Linked DNA regions of Homo sapiens: region 2 is linked to region 1. The links are contacts of gene promoters, found by promoter capture Hi-C in human tissues and cell types (Jung and others, 2019). All regions are on one chromosome and are shown on one strand. Each heading gives the region's core, a stretch centred on a gene start or on the middle of the fragment in contact. The rest is flanking DNA. Distances are from core to core; before and after follow the strand shown. Region 1 holds the start of KRTAP24-1 (keratin associated protein 24-1). Region 2 has its middle 98 kb from the start of GRIK1.

Evidence for each region. Contacts are between HindIII fragments. The study calls those that stand out against the background at their distance.
Region 2: a contact is called between a fragment that was not itself captured here and the fragment with the promoter of KRTAP24-1 in region 1, in 2 of the 25 tissues and cell types used here (H1 embryonic stem cells and adrenal gland).

What each region holds. Positions count from the first base shown.
Region 1 is chr21:30,281,422-30,284,860 of GRCh38, forward strand. It overlaps KRTAP24-1 (keratin associated protein 24-1), which reads right to left and starts at 1,529. Exons shown (of 1, transcript NM_001085455.3): 1 at 1-1,529. The coding sequence starts at 1,511. The coding sequence ends at 747. The HindIII fragment of the contact is 1,878 bases long and covers 132-2,009 here.
Region 2 is chr21:30,036,586-30,040,027 of GRCh38, forward strand. No RefSeq gene overlaps it. Among named protein-coding and RNA genes, the nearest start is that of GRIK1, 98 kb to the left of the region's middle. The HindIII fragment of the contact is 6,391 bases long and covers 1-3,442 here.

The sequences.
Region 1 (3,439 bases), core at 279-2,778:
TTGTAAAGGGTCTCTAACAGTATTTGTTCTTCTTTCAACAAATAATTTTCATGCTTTAGCTAATTCTGAGGCTTTTTCTTAGGCATGGAGAACAAAAGCTGAGTACCAGTGAATCTTGTTTTATGGCTTCTCTGGAAGAGAAGATTTGCTGAAGTCTTCTATTTTTGAGCTCTAGTCACCATTGCTATTTGCCTGTTCTTACAATCAATCAGTAAGAAAAGGATGAAATAGTTCAACTTATTATGCTCAAGATAGTGTTTTCTATCGGCTTATTAGCAAGGTGCTAGTTAGGTAGTTGACAAAAATATTAATGACAATCAAAGCCATCCGAATGAATTTGCATGCTGGAATCTGCAGTCAAACCATGGAGGCCCCATTTCATCAGGAAAGGTAGGTGATAATCACACTGTCAGACAAGTGACAGTGACAGCCAAAGTAAGAAAGCCGGTGATGGTTGTATTTCAAATGGAGTCTCTTCGGTAAGTCCATTGTAATAAATCTCAGAAATAATGATGTTACCTTCAGGGTCAGCTTTTAGTACAAAGAGCAATAACAGAACAACAGAAAAAAGAAAACCTAGCAGGTGATACTGGCTGTGGTTAATAAACCTGGGAGTTGTATTTGAACTTAATGTAACAAGATTCTTAGGCTGAATAAAGAGATTCAGCAGAAAATTAGACGTTCTAGTACTTAGTAGAATCTTCCCCATTGGGCAATTTCCAGCTGCTATAAATTCTGGAAGTTGGTCAATAGCATTTCAGAGGTCTGCTACCACTGCACAAATACCTCAGAGGTGGAAAGGTACTGGGTATATAGCTCAGAGATCTGAAGCTTCTAGATAAATAGCTCAGTGGTCGGCAGCTCGTAGGCCTGTAGCTTGAATAGTGATAATTTCTCACTAAATAGCTTTGGGGTTGGCAGCTGTTGGAAATATAACATAATGGTGAGACGTAGCTGGGTATGAAGCAAGGATTTTGGTAGCTTTTATACCCCAAAGTACTCAATCTGCAGTGGTTTAGAGTTTGGAAACTCTTGGATAAGCAGTTAAGTTGTCCAAAGCAGTTGGAACCGTTGCGGAGGGTTTGGCAGGCTTTGGATGCATTTCGAGTGGGTATGTGGCAATTGCATACATACCCATTGGTCTGGGTGCTTGGGCTGCAGCTGGGGCTGGGGCTGACGTTGGTAGTTTCACAGACACTGAAGACTTGGCCTGCTGATGGGGAGTTGCAGGGCACAGAGGAGTTTGACGGGTCACAACCAGTGGTACTGCAGGTCTTGGGCTCACAGCTGGGAGATTTGCAGGTTGGTGCTTCACCGTAGGATTCTTGGCAGTAATCCAGGAGCCAGAGATTTCCTTGGTAGCTACTGGGTAAGCAGTGTCCAAAGGTAGGGCTTAAATCACTGGAGCTAAGAGTAACAGAAGAGGTCACTGGGATATAACAGTGAGTTCTGTATGATGTGGTACTGCAGACCCCAGGATAGCCTGTAGTAGACATGGAGCCTGCAGGCATGCTCAGTGGTCGCTGTGCAGTGTGTCTGTGGCCTAAGGACGTTTTATACCTTCCCTGGTGATTGTCAAAAGCCTCTCCAGACTCTTTCTTCTGTCTGCTTGGGGCAATAACACAGCAACATCTCATTAGTGTGTTGGTTAGCCACAGAGGCTAATGTTTTCACACGTGTAAAAATAAGTTTATTTTAATTCTTCAAAGTATCCATAATCACCACTTTGACCATCACCCATCACTCATCATCTGTAGACCATACCTTCAGCAAATAGTGATTTTCATGTTAATAGGCAAACTCTCATCTGTCAATCAGAGGTTAACAAGAGTTCATGGGTCTATGGGCTTCTGCAACATGGTTATTTAAAGGTTCACAAGGACTCAAGTAAAGCAAGTAACCTGTATTTTTCCACGCTGTTAACTACTGGAAAACACTGAAGGACTTAATCATATACTCTGAAATAAGTCAAGTAGTTTGTCTGTCTCAACATGGTTACTCAAAAGCAGGCATTGACCTTTCAAGAATCAGTTTTCCAAATATGTGCTATACTCTTACCTGTGCAGGGCCATATACTGGTAACGGCTTCTCATGTAATGTATTAGGAGAAGTTCATAGGTAAGACTCACAGCAATACTTGGGAAACTTGGTGACCAACACCTGGCTAAAAATGAACTTGTTCCCAGGGGGCATTTGTTGCTAAGCAACCAAGACTTCTGTTAAATCCCTTCTTAAAGAGTGTCGGCAATATGCACTATCAAATAAACCCAGCTTTGCAAGATGATACCTTCCTAATTGACTAAGATTACATATCACATGTTCCATTGCCTGCTGTAAACCCCAATTGCTGTCAGATGTAAATATTTTCCCCGTTTTTCCCCAAATAAGTTCTCTTATTCTTTATTTGCTTTCTTTTGCACCTACACTTTATTTTACTCCTGTGTTGAAAAATGCAGTTATTTTTAGTTTATGTCAATGAAAGGAAATAACTCTTTAAAAGTTTTATCTGAATAAACTGTATAGTTCTTACAAGCACTGTATATATGAAATAGCACTTTTTACTACTCAGGGTGAAGGCTAAAGAATTTTTTTAAAGATTTTAATTTATACTGAAGAACTGAAATTTTGTTCTTCAAATATAAAATTATAATTTATAATTCCAGCCTCTATTGAATTGGAAACAGCAATGCATTTATTAACTGTGAAGAGTTCAGACAGAGAATAGAACAGTCTTCTTCAGGTATAATCAGCTATAGGGATAGTTTTTTAAATTAACTCTCTTTATAGCAAACTATGAGATTTCTCTCACTGTTTTCGGTTACTTTTCAGTCAGATTTTTCAAATGCACAGCAATTTAAACCTACAGATATTCTCTTTTTTTTAAAAAAGATCTCCATTTTCTCAGTGCTTTTCTCAGTATTTGTTCTGTAAGTTGACAATAAGCAATTCTGTATTAAACATGTTTTGCTGCCTTCTGCAGTATCTCTCAGGTGACAAAGGCCACAATCATGAAACTGTATTTCCAGTAAATTGTTTGGCTATAGAGAGCCTTGGGATTTTGTGCGGAAAATGTTAGTCCTGAGGCAGGCAAAATAGGAAAGAAGATACATGGGCAGTTAGTTGACGGCCAACTTTCCGCTAAGTTACTGAGCCCCAGTGATACACAGAAAAGCCACAGGTTGATGAAGCTTTATTTCTACAGTTCTCTATTGTATCATTGTTGCCTCTAGTCTTTTTTTCTTAGGCATCCTTGAAGCAGGTTTGAGGGCTAACACCATTAACAAACACAGAATGAGTTAAGTCAGTTACTGTAAAGCTCACATTCTTCCCTTCCATCTTAAAATTAAATAGTGAGGTATTTTGAATTAATTTGATTCACACAGGTGTAAGTCTAAAAAATAATGTGGAACATCATATGGCATGACCAATATTCAAAGCA
Region 2 (3,442 bases), core at 516-3,015, 240 kb before region 1:
TTTTTTTTTTGAGACGGAATCTCGCTCTGTCGCCCAGGCTGGAGTGCAGTGGCGCCATGTCGGCTCACTGCAAGCTCCACCTCCCGGGTTCACGTCATTCTCCTGCCTCAGCCTCCCGAGTAGCTGGGACTACAGGCGCCCGCCACCACGCCCAGCTAATTTTTTTTTTTTAATACACTGTTTTTAAAAACAGGCTTACGGGCCATAGTTTGCATACCTTTGATTTAAATCCTTGTGCTACCCTTTGTCATGTCATACACATTGCATATTCTTCAGAGCAAGCGGATAACTAAGTAAGAAAGCACCTTATAATCCAGAACCCCAACCATCACTGTTCTTACACTTGCTCATTCCGTAATTCAGAAAACATTCATCAAATTCTAGCTCTGCCCATAACATTGCAGAATGTCTTTTTATTCCTCTTTTCATCCAGTATTCACGATTGCCGCCCTTAATTGAGCATTTCTCTATCTGGATTCCCTTCAGAGCTTCCAGCAGCCCTGAGTCTGCCTCAGTGTTGTTTTTTTTTTTTTTTGCTAGAGGATTAATATATATGTATTTATAATGTATATATACACATATTATATATGTATATATAATACATGTTAAAACGTTTACAGAATGTTTCTGCTATCTATAAATGATTTTAACTTTCCTGCCTGTCATATATTTTATGTAAATACTAGAATAAAAACATTTTAAAAATACAGAAATGTGTGATGAATACAGGAAATGCCATCTGCAATTCTCCCACCATATAGATCTTAGAGTTTTGAACTGTATTTAGTGGAAACTAGTCGCTGCCTCTCAGCCACTAGAGGACTAATATCTATGATTATTAGAGAAGTTGAAATAAAGTGTCTTTCTAATGACTCTTTCTCAAAGCAGATCACAGGTTGATTTAGTGAAACCAGGTCGTCAGTATGCGGCCAAGTGTTGCTGGTGCCTGCTCTAAAGCAATATGAGGTGGGTCACTTCTCCTTTCTTATCAGCAGCCACTCAGATCTCTTCATTCGTCTTTATTCAGGAAGCTCTTAGAATTTCCCACTGGTATCCTTATCCTGTCCTTCTAAATTTAATTCTAAGACCAAGGCCACATGTTATATTGGTCAGATTAGTTAGACCCAGAAAATATGAGAGATATCAAAACAATTTATTTCACTTGGAAAAACAACACTTTAAGCAAAATTCAAACTCTATTATGTCCAGGAAAGCTTTTGGTGACTTTTCCAGACTTCTGGTGAGTGTAGAATAATTGACAAGTGGAGCTTGTTTGTCCATGGAGTGAAGAAGAATGGGTGATTTAGTAAATCACAGGCTGAAATGCATTTTAATAAACAACTTCCTTATTCAGTTCAGCATTTGAATGTCTTGTTGCTTACTTTGATTTGAGGTCTGCAATATCTAAATCTTTTTCAAGTGTTTCACAAAAATAACCTTTCCATGTGTTACTCACCCAAAGCTTCATTAATTAACTCTCCTGTGGTCAAAAGGTGAATAGAAATGATTTGTGGCAATCCTCTCCCATGGACCAAAAGATGCCAATTATCTCCCATTAACCATTCACAAAATCAAAGACACAAGCACATAGAAATGAGGGATACAAAGATAGGGAAGCAGGACAAAAAACACCAGTTACTGAACTGGTTGATGAAATTGATGGATTTTCCTTCTTTTTCCTTTTTTTTTTTTTTTTTTTTTTTTTTTTTTGAGATGGAGTCTCACTCTGTTGCCCAGGCTGGAGTGCAGTGGAGCGATCTCAGCTCACTGCAAGCTCTGCCTCCTGGGTTCAAGCAATTCTCCTGCCTCAGCCTCCCGAGTAACTGGGACTATGGGCACCTGCCACCACACCCGGCTAATTTTTTTGTATTTTTAGTAGAGACGGGGTTTCACCGTGTTAGCCAGGATGGTCTCAATCTCCTGACCTCATGATCCGCCTGCCATGACCTCCCAAAGTGCTGGGATTACAGGCATGAGCCACTGCACTTGGCCTCTTTTTCCTTTTATAGGAAGCAGAATCACCTGCTTTTGCTCATTCCCAAATATGATTTGGAAACAAGATAATGTTAGCTGATCTTTCTCTCCACTTGTTAGGTGTTGCAACACTTGTAGTTCTGTCACCCTCTGATCCTTGGAGGACTGAAGAACTTTAGCAGAGAGGGAGAGTAAGAGTCCATGATAAAATAAAAATAAAGAGAAGAAGATGGGAGAAAAGCAACCTAGACCATCTACAACAGAACTTACAGAAAAAAGACAAGAAAGGGACAATTTATTTTTACAAAATAGTTAATATTTTCTCTTTTGGCAAGCATAATGAATTTTTATTTTGCATTTTTATTTGGATAATTTTCGATTTCCCAAATACTTTAGATAGTCTTAATTTTTGTTATCTGTGTACTTTCTCCTCAACATGCTCAGAGATACTTTCTTAACTTATAAAAAGAAATTAGTCCTCATTTTTAGATGAAAGCTCAGTTTAAAGAAGTCAGAGCCCCCATAGACAGAAACAGAGCCCGTTCTTGCTGGGTTGGAGTTACATGGAGCCCCCCAGCAACACCCTTCTCATGTGAAAGCACAAAGGCAGTGACTCATGTGGTGCATTTGAAAGATTCAGAATGCCCCTTCGCTGCAGAATATCACCCTTACTGTTCCCAGGGCTGCAGTAAAGTTCCTTCATTTAAGTCCTTTTTTAAAGGATAAAATCTGATAGCAAGTAAGAAAAACATTTACTTCCTTGAATTTGCTAATTATACCTCCAGACAACCACGATAAAGAAGCTAAATACATGTGTCATAGGATGGTTTCTTGTGACTGAAATGATGGAAGGAAAAGGAGAAGAGGAAGGCAGGTGAGGACTTTGCTATAAACGTTTATTGATTTCAAATGATCCCCTCCCTCTTTTCCTTCCTGCTCCCTAGCTCTCTTTATCTGTCCCTCCTTCTCCCATTTTCCTTTTCTTCTCCTTCTCCCTTTTTTTCTTCTTTCATTCTTCTCTTTCTTCCTTCAATTCTTCTTCAATATTCAGTGGAAAAGCCATTGCATGGGAATGAACACAATGGCCATTGACACAGGAGGATGAAGGAAGGCACAGCAGTCTGTTGGGGATGCAGGATATGAGTATGACAAGAAGGGCACCTGTGGAAAGTTGGGGTGCAGGGTGTGGTAATGAAGGTGGCCAATCAGAAGTGGAAAGAAGAGAGCATCTGCAGGAAGGTGAGGACAGAGTAGCTTGGTCCACAGAAGGAGGAACAGCTAAAGCTAAATCAGGGTGGTTTGAGCCTGATTGTGGTAAGGGGGACATTTGAGAAAGAGGTTGCAGCAGGTGGTGAAGTGTAGGGGGCAGGTCAAAGCTAGGTGGGGGCAGCTGTAGTTAGGAGCTTGGGCAGAGTATCGAATGCTGAATTAAGGGTGGCATATCCCTTCCACTTTGGGAGCCAATAGT